2 separate regions of the Homo sapiens genome follow, and region 2 is linked to region 1. The links are contacts of gene promoters, found by promoter capture Hi-C in human tissues and cell types (Jung and others, 2019). All regions are on one chromosome and are shown on one strand. Each heading gives the region's core, a stretch centred on a gene start or on the middle of the fragment in contact. The rest is flanking DNA. Distances are from core to core; before and after follow the strand shown. Region 1 holds the start of CDKN2AIPNL (CDKN2A interacting protein N-terminal like). Region 2 has its middle 14 kb from the start of LINC02999.

Region 1 (7,862 bases), core at 3,966-6,465:
TTGAGATGGAGTCTTGCTCTGTCACCCAGGCTGGAGTGCAGTGGCGTGATCTTGGCTCACTGCAAGCTCTGTGGCTCACTGCAAGCTCTGCCTCCTGGGTTCACACCATTCTCCTGCCTCAGCCTCCAGAGCAGCTGGGACTACGGGCGCCTGCTACCACGCCCGGCTAATTTTTTGTATTTTTAATAGAAACGGGGTTTCACCATGTTAGCCAGGATGGTCTCGATCTCCTGACCTCATGATCTGCCCACCTTGGCCTCCCAAACTGCTGAGATTACAGGCGTCAGCCACCGCGCCTGGCCTGAAATATTTCATAAACAAAAAATTAACTCTAACAAAGGGAAAAAAGAAAGAGGAAAAAAAGGGGGCAAGCGATCTGAATAGACATGTCCCCAAAAAGATATACACACGGCCAATAAGCACAAGAAAGATGCTCAGGATCATTACTTATTAGAAAAATGCAAATCAAAACAACAATGAGGTATCACTTTGTACCCCCTAGGATGGCTATAATTTAAAAATTAAAAAAGGGAAAATACTAAGTGTTGGCAAGAATGTGAGGAAGTTGGAACCCTCATGCATTACCAGTAGCACTGTGGAGAGTAGTTCAGACACTGTGGAAAACAGTTTGTTCAAAAAGTTAAACACAGCTGGGCACGGTGGCTCACACCTATAATCCCAGCACTTTGGGAGGCTGAGGCGGGAAGATCACCCGAGGTCAGGAATTCGAGACCAGTCTGGCTAACACGGTGAAACCCCCGTCTCTACTAAAAATACAAAAATTAGCCAGGCGTGCTGGCAAGTCCCTGTAGTCCCAGCTACTTGGAATGCTGAGGCACGGGAATCGCTTGAACCTGGGAGGCGGAGGTTGCAGTGAGCTGAGATCACGCCACTGCACTACAGCCTGGGCAACAGAGTGAGAATCTGTCTCAAAAAAAAAAGTCTGAATCATGAAAAAAAGTTAGAAACAACAAACTGGTCAATAACTGGACTTGCCACATTGTTCTGTGAAGTGTTAATTATTAACTTTTTTGTTTGTTTGTTTTTGAGACAAGGTCTTTCTCTGTCTCCCAGGCAGAAATGCAGTGTTGCTACTATAGCTCACTGCAGCTTTGAACTCCTGGGCTCAACCGATCATCCTGTTTCAGCCTCCCAAGCAGCTGGAACTATAGGTGTATACCACCATGCCCAGCTAATTTTGTAATTGTTTGTAGAGATGAGGGTCTCACTGTGTGTGGCCATTAACAATTTTTTTTTTTGAGACAGTCTTGCTCTGTTGCCCAGGCTACAGTGCAATCGTGCGATCTCAGCTCACTGGAACCTCTGCCTCTCAGGTTCAAGCGATTCTTCTGCCTCAGCCTCCTGAGTAGCTGGGATTACAGGTACGTGCTACCACACCTGGCTAATTTTGTATTTTTAGTAGAGACAGGGTTTCGCTATGTTGGCCAAGCTGGTCTCGAACTCCTGACCTCAGGTGATCCGCCTGCCTCAGCCTCCCAAAGTGCTGGGATTACAGGCCTGTGAGCCACTGTGCCTGGCCAATATTTTATACTGCTTAGCATTTTGAAAGCATAATGTTAACAACATCACAATTTTTTTTTAAAGAAAGAATACCTGGCCAGGTGTAGTGGCTCATGCCTGTAATCCTAGCACCTTGGGAGGCTGAGGCAAGAGGATCACTTGAGCCCGGGAGTTTGAGACCAGCCTGGATAACATAGCAAGATCCCAACTCTATGAAAAACTTAAAAATTAGCCAGGCATTGTGGCACACACCTGTAGTCCCAGCTACTCATGGAGGCTGAGGTGGGAGGATTTCTTGAACCTGGGAGGTCAAGGCTGCAGTCAGCCATGATGTGGCACTGCACTCCAGCCTGTATGGCAGAGCAAGATTCTGTATTAAAAAAAAAAAAAAGAATACCTATTTGTGCACTTTTGGGTTTACAATTGTATGCATGTCTGAATATGTTCGTCCGTATGTTATGTATATGCATATGCTCCATAATTGTCACAGATATGCTAAATAAGGTAGTTGCTGCATGACCTTTAGCTTTTTCACACCCCATAGGCAGGATTGGCTGTGTAACTGCAGCTGCTATTTGCAGAGCCTGGGTTCCTATTTCTGAGCTAACCTCTGTACTATACAATCAGGTGACCAAGACTTTCTGAGCTAACCTCTGTACTATACAATCAGGTGACCAAGACTTTAGCTCAGAGAACCCTCAACAACTTTGAGTTTTTCTTTTTTTGAGACGGAGTCTCACTCTGTCACCCAGGCTGGAGTGCATTGGTGCGATCTCAGCTCACTGCAACCTCTGCCTCCTGGGTTCACGCCATTCTCCTGCCTCAGCCTCCCAAGCAGCTGGGATTACAGGTGCCCACCACCACGCCTGGTTATTTTTTGTATTTTTAGTAGAGACGGGGTTTCACCGTGTTAGCCAGGATGGTCTCGATCTCCTGACCTCGTGATCTGCCCGCCTCGGCCTCCCAAAGTGCTGGGATTGCAGGCATGAGCCACCACTCCCAGTCTAACTTTGAGTTTTTCTAAGTTTGGTCAGCGGCAGGTGGAAGCAGAATTACCTGGGGCCTTGAATCTGAACATCCAATGGTGAGCCTGGGGGAGTCTGTCATTTTAACGAGCCTCTCAGGACGTGGGATCTGCACTCACTTTTGGGACTTTTAGGTCTGTGCACCAATTCCTGATTGCTGGGAGTAGCTAACTCTGTCTTTGGTCTCACAGGCCTGTTGACACTTTGCTTGCCCACATTTGCATGAATATCATGCCTCCCTGTTGTTAACCATTATGCCATATCACTGAGCTTGGTGCTGGGTCTTCAGGTTCATTCTATGCGGACTGCCCTGTATTTCCATGCTTTGTTGAGTCTCTGATTTCTGGGGACCCTGATGCCCCAAAAGAAGCTGCAGAAGCAGCAGACAGGATGTAATCAGCTCTCCCCACAGGCCACACTCACAATACAGGACCTGCACTGGAGCCCTAGATCGTGGATTCTAGGCTCACCTCTGTACCCCAACCTCACATTTGACTGGGGGCAATGGGGAAGCCTATTAGGTCAATAATCTCTCAAAGCTGGTGAAGGCTCAAGTGACTCTTTGTGTGAAGGGAAAACTTTCCTTTGCTCTCTGAAGGTTAGTGAAAATCAATTGACAAAAGGCAGATTAAGAGGAGAAAAGGCAGCCAGGCACTGTGGCTCACGCCTATAATCCCATCATTTTGGGAGGCCGAGGAGCTTGGACCACCTGAGATCAGGGGTTCGAGACCAGCCTGGTCAACATGGTGAAACCCCGTTTCTACTAAAGATACAAAATTAGCCGGGCGTGATGTCAGGTGCCTGTAATCCCAGCTACTCAGGAGGCTGAGGCAGGAGAATCACTTGAACCTGGGAGGCAGAAGTTGCGGTGAGCAGAGATCACACCATTGCACTCCAGCCTGGGCAAAAAGAGTGAAATTTGCTCTCAAAAAAAAAAAAAAAAGAGAAAAGACATACAAGTTTATTAATGTGCATAGTTAATCACAGAGTGATTACCCCATCATCCAGAGTGTGAATATTTTAGATGGGTAGTAAATGATTTTTAGGGTAATTCAATGGGCTTGAAGAACATGCAATGGCCTGGGACAAAGTCTGTTGGGCCTGCAGAGGAGACAAGGGTTTGTGACAAAAGTCTGTCCTAGTGTGTTGACCATACTTCAGTCTTTCCTCCTGCAAAACAAATTCACTTAATGAAAACTCAGGGAGGGAACCAGAGATAATTGTTTCCTTTGGCGTTCTGGACTAAATTTAGGCAGATAAGGGAACAACTTCATCTTGTGCTTTGGGAGGAACAAAGAATTGACAGACAGGAGTGTGTGTTGGTGGCGGAGGTCACAGAGACCTTGAGGCTTCTTCATCAGTTCAGCATGTCAAAATACATTTTGGGGTGTTGGTTTCTGAGCCCCAACACCCAGTTACTGTAGTTGAATGCTTCCAGGGATGGAAAATTCACCACTTAAAAGGAAGCTCTTTTTTCTCTCAGTGTGTCTGCTACCTGAGACTCGAACAGACAGCAGAGTCATGCCAGCTAAATAAAAACTTTCAGGTCCAGCCAGTTACGATGGCTCATACCTGTAATCCCAGCATTTTGGGAGGCTGAGGGAGACGGATCACTTGAGCTCAGGAGTTCGAGACCAGCCTGGGCAACATGGCGAAACCCTGTCTCTATTTAAAACCAAGTCCAAACTTGCTCATTTCCTCTGGACACATTGTTTCTGGCTCCTTCCAGCATCTTTTGTAAACACAGGTGTCACTGTTCTGGTTAAAATCCTTCAGCGGCTCCCCATTCTTGGGATCTAGCCAGGATCCCTGCCTGGCCTACTGGCCTTGCTGACCTCTGCAACTTCATCTTCTCCATTCTCTACCTGCCCTGCCCCGCCCCCCAACCCCTCCTACCCCCTATCTTGCAATTCTCTTACCAGGCCATGCTCTCTCTTGCTTTGACCGACTCCCCTTTACTCAGAAAACTGCTCATTCTTCACTTCTCCAGGATCACTTCCCTGACCCCAAGACTAGATTGGGTCCCTTGCTTATTCATGGTTGTAGCACGCTGAACTTCTCTTTACTAATACTTGTCAACGCTGAAATTCTCCATTTACTTGAGCAATTATGTCACTAATGTCCACTCCTCCACTCCATGGTAAAGTTCAGGCGAGCAGGGCTCCGAATGTGCTCTCATTGCCTCTCCAGCACCTAGCAATGTGCCTGGCAAGTATTCACGGGATGGATGGATTACTCGCTCCAGGAAGGCGGGCCCCAACCTTCGTGGCTGTGGAGACCCCTGGAAGTCGACCGTGACCCGGGCCCCCTGATGTCGCTCAGGATGAGGCGGTGCCCGGGAAACTCTCAGGGCAAGGGCACAGCATAGCTCTGGCTGGCATCCAGCTGCCAACTGGAAGAGGGCGCTCCGAATCTGTGTTTAGGGACCTCAGTTTTCCCACCGGTTCCCCGCAGGGTCGACCGCAAAAGACCCTTGTAGCCCTGGGTAGACCCAGGGCAGGAGCCACGGGCTGCGGCGGTCTGAGGAGCCAGGAGCCGCTCTGTGCCCCCGCAGGCCGCCGCTCCGGGCGAGGGCGCTCCAGGTTGGTCTTCTGGAGCAGTCGTGCGCTGATGGGGCCCCTCTGGCCGGCAGGCGGTGGCGCAGTGCGCGTCGGGAAGGCGGCGGGCTATCCGGTCCTCGGCTGCGGCGGGCACCATGGTCGGTGGCGAGGCGGCTGCCGCAGTGGAGGAGCTGGTTTCGGGGGTGCGGCAGGCGGCCGACTTCGCGGAGCAGTTCCGCTCCTACTCAGAGAGCGAGAAGCAATGGAAGGCCCGCATGGAATTCATCCTGCGCCACCTGCCCGACTACCGCGACCCGCCCGACGGCAGTGGCCGCCTGGACCAGCTGCTCTCCCTCTCCATGGTCTGGGCCAACCATCTCTTCCTAGGCTGCAGGTGCGGACCCCTGCCGGCCGGCTGATCCTGTCCCCTATCTTCCGACCCTCAAGGCCTCTCCCAGGGCTCACCCCTGACCCGAACCTCTGCCCCAGACTGAACCCGGGCCCAACCTCCATCCGCATTGGTCGGCCCGAAGACTGATTCCCACCCTGGAGGCCCCTTGGAAAGATCCTTATCTTTGAGCCTCAGTTTTCTCTTCTGGTAAAAGGGTGGTTATGATGGCTGTAATAATTAAAGGGTGAAGAGCTAAATACATGGCGGGTTCAAAGGTTGCTATTGTTATTTGTATTACTATTATTATTAGCTCAAACCATCACCTTTGCAGTATGCATTCGAAGTCCGTTAGCCCCTGTCACCTACATGGCAAACGTGCAGAGAGAGAAACGGAGATCCCCATTTTACAGATGAAAAAGCTTAGGGAGAGAAGTGATATACCTGGGGCCATGCAGCTTCTGGCAGGATTGATGGATTTTAATCACTAATGAGAGGATGTAATCTGTATCCTATGGCTTTTTCTCCTCACTCCACAGCCCACGGGGTCCTAAGTAGGAACCAGCTTCACCTCTCTGCTTTCCCTCTTATGAAAATGGCCGATGCCTTTTTGTGAAGGTCTCAAAGCCCACTTCATCCTGGCTGCAGCACCAAAAGGACAAAGGCCCGCTTTTGAAGTGCCTGATAAGGCATTCCTTTCACCCCTCCATGAGGAAGGTGGCAAATCTTGAGACTCCCTATTAGAGAGCTTCGATTTTCCTGAAATTGTGTTAGGAAAATAGGGTGACTTGGTTTGATCTTGGTTTCTATACCTATTATGGCTGCCTGACTCTGGTCATTTGGCCCCTGCAGGCCTAAGCCACTTGGTTTTGCTTCACATATTGGGGTTTATTAGAACAGTACGTAGGGAAGCAATGCCAGAGGCACCCGTCCCTTTTCCCTGCCTTCTAGGTGCTCCTGGGAAATCCTGGTTTTCCATGGTTAGGCAAATGTCAGAGAATTGGGGAAATAAATAATGTTTTTGTTAGACTAACATTCCATGTATTTAAAAAATAAAAATATTTTGGTCCTCATCCTGTATCTGAGAATATCTGTTGCTGGATGTACAGTGCCTCTGTTCTTCTAAATCTTGAAACATCTGCTGTACTGGTATTTCTGAAGTCCACTTCTGTATCTACAAGCAAGAAGTGTTCACAGGGCCAGGCACGGTGTCTCACGCCAGTAATCCTAGCACTTTGGGAGGAGGATCACTTGAGGTCAGGAGTTGGAGACCAGCCTGGCCAACATGGTGAAACCCTGTCTCTACTAAAAATAAAAAATTAGCCAGGCGTGGTGGCACACGCCTGTAATCCCAGCTACTCGGGAGGCTGAGGCAGGAGAATTGCTTGAACCTGGGAGGTGGAGGTTGCAGTGAGCCGAGATCACACCACTGCACTCCAACCTGGGGGACAGAGCAAGACTCCATCTCAAAACCTTGTGGGGAACATGTATAGGTTTGCCCTGCAGTATCAGGTCAGTTCTCTGAGAGCTGATTTTATAGTTGAGCAACCTGCAGTTTCTTATTAATCCACAGTGACAATTGTTCCAAGGTTTTTACCTTACTACTTTTTATTGTGCAGTTACAATAAAGACCTTTTAGACAAGGTGATGGAAATGGCCGATGGGATTGAAGTGGAAGACCTGCCACAATTTACTACCAGAAGTGAATTAATGAAAAAGGTAAATAGGATTTCCAAGTGCATGTGATGAAATGGTGTAGAGTTAACAGTCCCTGCCTTGATGACACTATATTAGAGTATATTGTTTTTGAATGCTCTTTACTGCCCCAAAGACCTATACCCTTTCATTTTTATTTCCCCATAATTGGTATAAGCCTTTTCATAAATAGTTGACAACTCACTGTGGTAAATTATGCATTGTTGATGAGGTAACACATAAGCTTAACCTCTTCCGGTTGTTTAGGAACATTGTTTTGAGATTTTTGCTTGATGTTTAAAAAGATGTTGGCTAGAATACTTAAGTTTCCTACTTGTTAAAAAATCTCATTGGTAAGACTCATCCTTACCCCAGGTGTGAGTGCCGGTGTGAGTGCCGACCTGACTTGTTTGGCTTCTGTGATTTGCTGATAAGAACGTGCCTGGAGCAATGTCGATGGCATAGCTGTTCTCTACCCTTTGGGGTCTGATCTCAGGCGATGGGCTTTTTACAGTGAGTCTTGCCTAGAGTCTTGAATCTGGACACTGGAGCTGGGGCTACAGAATGTGGCAGAAAGAACCTCAGAATATGGAGCTGGGCATCCCAGCTATTAATACTTTTCAGAATCACCTCCAAAACATGCTTGTTTCACATTTGTCTGCTCAGGCAGCAGAATTAATTGCTCGCTTATCT
Region 2 (7,862 bases), core at 3,785-6,284, 36 kb before region 1:
GATCTCCATCCAGCTTTGTTCTTTTTCAAGCTTGTTTTGACTACTTGAGGTCTCTTGAGATATGATATGAATTTAGGATGGATTTTTCTATTTCTGAAAAAATATGTTGTTGGGATTTTGATAGTGATTCAATAGTGATAGTATTGCCCCATGTGACTTTAAGGAGGGCCTGTACTGGCAAAGGTGTTCCAGGGTGACCAGGGACCAGTGGTGCAATGATAACGAATGGTGGTCTGAGCAGAAGGGAAAGGCACTGACTTGGCACATCCAAGGGTGTGGGCAAGGGGCTACTCTTTTTTTTTTTTTTTTTTTTGAGATGGAGTCTTTCTCTGTTGCCCAGGCTGGAGTGCAATAGCACGATCTCGGCTCACTGCAACCTCCACCTCCCAAGGTCAAGCGATTCTCCTGCCTCAGCCTCCCAAGTAGCTGGGACAACAGGCTCCCACCACCATGTCCGGCTAATTTTTGTATTTTTAGTAGAGATGGGGTTGTACCATGTTGGTCAGGCTGGTCTGGAACTCCTGACCTCATGATCTGCCTGCCTTGGCCTCCCAAAGTGCTGGGATTACAGGCGTGAGACACTGTGCCTGGCTGAGCTACCCTTCTTTAGAAGGCTGAAAGCTTTGCCTCTTCCCAGTCTTCCCCCAGAAGAGGGGGTCCCCAGGGGCAGGAGTTTACCCATCTGTATAATTGACATTGTATCCTTAAGCCACTAAAAAGGTTTCTCCTTTCTCTCATTCAGATTTTTCAGCTTTTTCATGCCCCTTGTTGATTTGTTAGGACAATAGCTCCGTATGTGGCTCTTAGGAACATTGGCACTATTTTTGATGTGGCTGGGCACTCTGTCTCACCCTAGTCCCTAGACAGATTGTCCCTCTAGTCAGCCAGCTGTCCTTTGCAGGAGGAGCATGTTTCTCAAGACTAAAGGAAATAGGAATGGGCAGTTCTGAGCCCCCAGGGAGGGGTGACTGGGCAGAGTCATTTGGTGAAGACTATAGAGAGGATCTCCTGGTCTCAATGCATCTTACCAGCAGAACTAGGCCTCAGTAGGTGAGCTCTGCCTGCAGCAGCAAAAGCAAAGGTGGCCATAGGCAGCCTTCTTGTGCAGCCTAGACTCTTGGAAGATGACTCACTGGGCCCTAAGCCAGACTTCTGGCTCTGCCTCAGAAAAATCCTTCACTATGCCTATCACTGGAGACAGATAGATGAGCAGAGCTCTCTGGGCCCCTCAAGGGGCAAAATTCCTGGTTCTTCACTGTGATACTCACCCATCCTCCCTGGCTGGCCACAGGGAAATAGAAGGGTCTTTATTTCCCTGACTGAAGGGGGCACAGCCAAGGCTTCTGGAAACTCATTCTCCCCTGGAGAGCGTTGTCTAATTCCAGCTCTGATAGTGGGGCCTGGGGTTTCCGACACTGCCTGAATTTCATGCCAAAGTTCACATCTATGTGATCAGTGTCAGAAAGTAAGGTCCTTGTGCCAAGCAAGAGTCTTTATCCAAGTTGTTGGGTTTTTTTTTGGTTTGTTTGTTTGTTTTTTGAGACAGGGTCTCACTCTGTCACCCAGGTGGGGAGTACAGTGGCACAATCATAGCTCACTGCAGCCTTCAACTCCTGGGTTCAAGCCAACCTCCCACCTCAGCCTTCAGTGTAGCTGTGACTACAGGCATGCACCACCAAACTTGGCTAAACTTCATGGCCTTAGACAGCACCCCAGGCCCTCCTGGACCATCCACAGCATTGCTGTGTGCACTCCTTGGTGCAGCAGGTGACTCAGGAGGGGCTAAAGTGCAAACCAGAGAGTGCAGAATATCTGAATTGAGCAAATAACATAGAGGGTGTGTCTGACTTTGTTGAAGCCCCTTCAGGGCCCTGTGGCTGGTGGGAGCCTCTGGCATGTTAAAACAGGGTCACCTGAGCCCAGGAATTCGAGACCAGCCTGGGCAACATAGCAAGACTCCATCACTATTTAACCAAAAAGAAACTAAAAAAAGACCAGAGGCCAAAGATTGAGTGCTGAGTAAAAAAAGTTTTACTGCCAAACAGGGAAACTATTCTATCCAGAGTCTAGGCTCAGAGGTTGGGGATACAGGGGGAAGATATGGGGTTGGTCGTGAGCTATTTCTGTTCTGTATTCAAAAAGCAAGGTTTCTGCAGGTTGCTGATTGACTGTGGATATGGGGCTGTGAGTCAGGTGATCACTGGGTTGTCTGGAGGTGGTCAGCTATGTACCTGGGCCATTGTGCCAGGATTAAGGTATCAAGCAGCCTCCTGGCCAAATCAAGATTTGGGTGCCAAGTCAGGTTTTTACTGATGTCAGCAGGTTAGATGGCAGGTCAGGGCTTCTCACTTGCTACTGGCCTTCAATTTTTCACCTGTGAAACAACGTGGGGACCCCCAGCTCCCCACTCTGTGAGCCCAAACCAGTTAGCAACTGTTTGCTAAATTCAACTGTGGGCCTGGGATTTATATCCCCAACAACAAAGCCAGGGTTGCCTTCCTCTCCCTCACCTCCCCCCATGCTGTGTTGAATTCCACTTCTTCTCTATATTCCACTATGTCTACCCTAGTCCAGGCCACCATACTGCTCACCCAAAGACATTCACTTCCTCTAAACTTATCACCTCCAGCTCGTGGTCTATGTGGCAATCTCAGTCTGTCTAAAATGTCACCCCCCTGCTTAACCCTTCCTTGACTCTGCTTGGCCATGGGGACAAAGCCCTGGCCTTCTGGGCTGACAGAGAAGGGTTTGCACATGCAGGCAGTTGACTTCTCCAACCACTGCCCACTACATCCCCCTTACACACTAGGTTCGGCCACAGTGAAGTTTCAGTTTCTCCAAAGTAATGTTTCCTCTCACCTTCAGACCTTTGCCGATGGTGTTCCCTCTGCAAGGAATGCTTTACCTGGCCACTTCTTACTTATCTTTATTTTATTTTATTTTATTTTTAGATGGAGTCTCACTCTGTTGCCCAGGCTGGAGTGCAATGGCGCGATCTCAGCTCACCGCAACCTCTGCTTCCTGGGTTCAAGCGATTCTCCTGCCTCAGCCTCCCCAGTAGCTGGGATAACAGGCATGCGCCACCACGCCCAGCTAATTTTTATATTTTTAGTGGAGACGGGGTTTCACCATGTTGGCCAGGTTGGTCTCAAACTCCTGACCTCAGGTGATCCTCCTGCCTCGGCCTCCCAAAGTGCTGGGATTACAGGCGTGAGCCACTGCACCCGGCTTTTGCTTATCTTTCAAGTGTAAGTTTAGATACTGACATCTTGGGAGAGCCTTCCATCACATCTCCAAGTTGGGGTTAGGTCTTCCCAACTTGGAGCACTCCAGTCTCTTCTCTTGCCTCAATAAATATTTGACTTGGAGTGTGGAGGAGGGATGTAGTCCCTCAGGTTATCTGGGGAAGGCATGTGTCCCCTGCCCCTCACACTCCCTAGTAACATGGGCTGGAGTCCCTCATGAAGGAGATGCCTGCACAGCCCTGTTCTTCACTTAGATCCTATTCTAAGGAGGGCAGGGTCATTTATTTCTGAAGGTGGACTCTTCTCTGGGCCACACTGTAAAGAGAATCACTGCTTTGCCAGCAGGGCACACAGGGGTCTCTGTTGTTTGGTGGTAGGGGTACTCCAGGATGACCAGCCAGAACATAGGGGCCCACAGGGCACAGGCAGGGGCCCGCAGGGCACAGGCAAGGGCCCAGGCTGGAGAAGAAAAGGCCTAGGTTCTAGCTCTGACTCTCTCCATCTGACTGAGTGACCACCCCATTAAGACTGCCAGACTTCAGCTCCACCTGGGCTTGCAGTGACAGGTTGTGCTAGGCCAAGGGAATTCTTTAGAGACCTGGTTGCCTTTTGAACTTGAGTTTCTGGCTCTTGGGAGAACAGAATGACTATTCCCACACAACTAGGAATGTCTCCCTGGGGCTCTGTTCTTTGAACTGACTTGTAAAAGAAATTAAGGGGTCCCACAGACCAACCTTGAGGATTTTCTTTCTGAGTCAACCCAGGTCACCGCTCTCCAAAACCTTCACCAAGTCTGCTCACCCCTCACCGCTACTCTGCTACTGCTAGCTTAAGTAGTTACGGAAGGTCCCCAAGGGCCCCTCCCATGCTGGTAAAACAAGGGTCTGTGTGTAGGTTTAGCTGTTAACTGGAGTGAGTTCTAGGGAATGGAGAGTTGGGATGACACACACTCATTTTACTGTGTATGCTTCTGTAATGTGGGAATGTTTTTACAAGCATGTATCACTCCTATAATTAAAGATGCAAATCTAGTAAAAAGCTCCATCCCTTAGGCCATAGGTTCAGGGGGCAGAGAATGTCAAGGAAGACTTGATAGGTGAGACAGTGTTAAAGCGGGGCCTGATCAGGTGGGCCAAGCATCACAGCAAATGCCCCCATAAGGGGGCTTTGGGACCAGGTAAAGGCAAGATCCAGGACCTGAAGATGGGAGAGCTTTGCAGGGAGACTATAAAAAGGATGGGCACATACATGGCTGGGGGATGATGATCTGAAGGACTGGTGAGTGGTGAATTGGTACCGTAGTGGGTGAAGCCTTAAATGACAGACTGAGGAGTTTGTAATTAAAGTGTATCTGAGTCAGAGGGATGTGACCTGAGCTAGGCCTTCGGACTGGAACTGACAGAGGTAAGAGAGAGACCAAGGCTGCCAGGAGGTTATTTGCACATCCCAGTGAGAAGAGCAACAACCAGGAGACAGAGATTCCTGGGTGAAAGAGATGGGCTGTCCAGGGACTAGATACTAAGGGCAGGCCCCATTCTCCATCTGCGCCGTAAATTCTCCTGTAGCCTTTCTGGGCACTGGCAGCTCCATGCCTGAGGTTCCTGGGCCACCTGTAGCTGGAGACAGGGTGCCATCCCAGCATGGCTCTGGCTTGGGCCCACCTGCCCACCATGACCCAGAGAGAGTGGGGCCTGCTGGACCACTCAGGGCCTGCGATTCCTTCTGCCTTCATAAAACAGCTCTGGAGCTGATGTTTGTTTTAGATTTGCGTGGTGATTTATTTGCATTTCACATTTTCCTGGGGCCTGGAGGAAAGGCAAGTTTGCACACCACAAAAACTGTGACTGGGGTCATACATGATGTGCCAGCATGAGCCACATCACTCTTCTCATGCTATAAGGCCTGTTGCAAGAGGCAAGGTGGGTGCTTTGGTGGCGCTGGGGGTTCCCCTGGGTTCTGGAGAAGCTCTGAGACCTCAGGGGACTGTATCTAACAGTGGAGAGAGTTGCAGAGTGCCCCACCCAGTGTGCCTCCCAGCCCTGCCTCCTGCCCCATCCGAGGCTTCTGGGGACAATCAGGCCTAACGGTCCATCCAGAATCACTTGGAAACCTACATGGAAAAGGAATGAGGGGCTTGGGCAGATTCTCCTAGACCAAAGAAATTTCACTCTCTTTTTTTTTGGAGACACGGTCTTGCTCTTTCACCCAGGCTGGAGTGCAGTGGTGCAGTCATGGCTAACTGCAACCTTGAATTCCTGGGCTTGAGTGATTCTCCAGCCTCAACCTCCTGAGTAGTTAGGACTATAGGTGTACACCAGCTATTTCTTTTTTCTTTTTCATTTTTTGTAGAGACAGGGTCTCGTTATGTTGCCCACACTGATTTTGAACTCCTGGCCTCAAGCAATCCTCCTAGCTCAGCCTACCAAAGGGCTGCGATTACAGGCATGAGCCACCTCACCTGGCCCCTCTTCTTTCTTAATTTATGATAACTTCACCATCATGGTCAGGTACCAAAGACCCAAATATAAAAGGAAATGCAACAAATCTTGCAGAGGGAGCATCTTCTCCACTCCCCTGACTCTTCTGAGTTAGCGGAGAGAGATCAAGGCTACACTCCACCCTGAAGGAGCCCAGAAATTTCAGAGCACAGTCAACACATCAGGTGAGATTCCCTTATTTCTACCCCAGGTGGTTGCCCAGCTCAGGACTCTGAGCCTGCCCTTCCCTCTCCCTGATTTGCCCCTCCTCCTCCTGTTCTTTCTTGCAGGTGTCACCTCCTCTGTGAAGCTTTCCTTTACTACTCTGCCAGCAAACTCCCCTCCCACATTCTTTCTGGACCTTGTCCTTAACCCATCACTGCATATTGCACCCTCTGCTGCTTTGCTTTATTTATGTGTCCGGGGTGATGTCATAGGAGCCCTCCCCTCTGTGTCCCCAGGGTATAGCCCAGTGTCTTCCCCATTGAGCTCAATACACACTGCTGCAACAGAGCCACGAAACAGTCTCAGGCTGCCTGAGCCAATTCCATGCCCTTTGGGCTGATTTTTCCCTCCTCACTACTCCCTGCATCCTTCTCTGCCCAAGGTGGGGCCTGACCTCAACCATGCCTGGAGGTGTCTCTCATGAAAGGGCCTTCAAACTAGGGTCTGCAGAGGTCCTCCAAGGCCTTGTTGGTAAACTTGAGATTCAGGCCAAGGCACAATGGGAAGGCTGGGAATTCTGGTGATCCCCTTACTGCACTGGAAATTGACTCTTGTACAGCAAGAATGCAGTGATGACTGATGACCATGTGCAATAAGGAGCATGGCTTGTGGCCTGAGTGAGTGAACACGCTAGCTGCCCAGGGTGTCCTGACAGCCCCATCTGGAGATGGCCAAGTAGGGATGCAGGACACAGGACTTCATCCAACTTGGGCCAACACCCCCAACCATGGGCAGAGAGTAGGACCAGCCAGGCAGGTGGGAGGTCCCCAGCCACCCTCCATGCCGCAAGTACCACTGAGTCCTTAGTCCACACACAGCCCAAGATAAGGTTCCACTGTCCAGGCAGAATGTGGCAGAAAGGAGAAAGCAAACTCCTGCCAGAAGGAACTTGGCAGTACCTGCTGTCCTTTCGGATGCCCTAGCCCCAGGCTTCTTGCTCCAGACTTCGCATTCCTCTAGGATCACAGTACCCCGTCACTGGCCAGTTGACCAAGCCAGAGCCTTGTCTTCCTTCTGCCAGGGCAGATTTTCTTCCTGTGGACTTTTCTCACCTTAGAGTTCTCTGGCTGACTGATGGCTCATCTTCTACTCAGCTAGGCCTCTGCCGCCCAATACCACCCTCCTTACCCCCATCCCCAGCTTGAGTCAGCACTCAGCTGGCTGCTCAAGATTTGGCTCTGCTCTCTGAGAGGTCTCTGGGCAAATCCTCAGCTCAGCGCTAAATACTTCTGCATTCAGTCTCTTTGGTTCATTGATCAGGAATCATATGATCTTTTAAAAACACAGCTGGTGGAGGCGCCCATCTGTGTTTCTGCATTTGGATCAGTAAATCAGGCTGCCTGGAATTTACTTAAACCTGCAGGTCTAGGGATAGAATGAGGCTGCCCTCACTATGCCTCCTGTGATGATCTTTCATCTTCTGGAGCTTCTTAATTTTTAAGAGCACCCTTGGCTGGGCTTCTAGGACTGGGTCTGTTGTTTACACTTATTTGTCTCCTAAGCTTCTCTAAGGACTATTTTCTTTTTAAAGTGAGATTCACTAATTACGGGGTGAAGCACAGTTTGCACTCCTCCCCATCCCCATCACACACACACACGCACACGCACACACACATGTATTTCCCAGACAAAATGGGTTGTAAGTCATTTGCCAGGTCAGTAACCCAAGGTAGTAATGTTCTCTGTGCTTCCTCCCTCAGACCTCATCCTGTGTGATACACACGGGAACACTGCTGATGTGGCAGAGATGGCCAGTTATCCCCAATATCTGGTCTAGCTGAACACATGGCCACCCAAAATAAATACTAAATTTCCTAGCCCCCTTTGCAGTTATCAATATATGACTAAGTTCTGACCAGTGAGACTAAAATAGAATGGTACATCCAACTTCAGGAAATCACACGCTGCTTCCTTT

Evidence for each region. Contacts are between HindIII fragments. The study calls those that stand out against the background at their distance.
Region 2: a contact is called between a fragment that was not itself captured here and the fragment with the promoter of CDKN2AIPNL in region 1, in 1 of the 25 tissues and cell types used here (mesenchymal stem cells).

The regions. Positions count from the first base shown.
Region 1 is chr5:134,409,234-134,417,095 of GRCh38, reverse strand. It overlaps CDKN2AIPNL (CDKN2A interacting protein N-terminal like), which reads left to right and starts at 5,215. Exons shown (of 3, transcript NM_080656.3): 1 at 5,215-5,480; 2 at 7,094-7,193. The coding sequence starts at 5,242. RefSeq lists enhancers at 4,347-5,084, 5,072-5,561, 5,085-5,823. The HindIII fragment of the contact is 17,979 bases long and covers 1-6,655 here.
Region 2 is chr5:134,445,332-134,453,193 of GRCh38, reverse strand. No RefSeq gene overlaps it. Among named protein-coding and RNA genes, the nearest start is that of LINC02999, 14 kb to the right of the region's middle. RefSeq lists a silencer at 1,324-1,509. The HindIII fragment of the contact is 3,414 bases long and covers 3,328-6,741 here.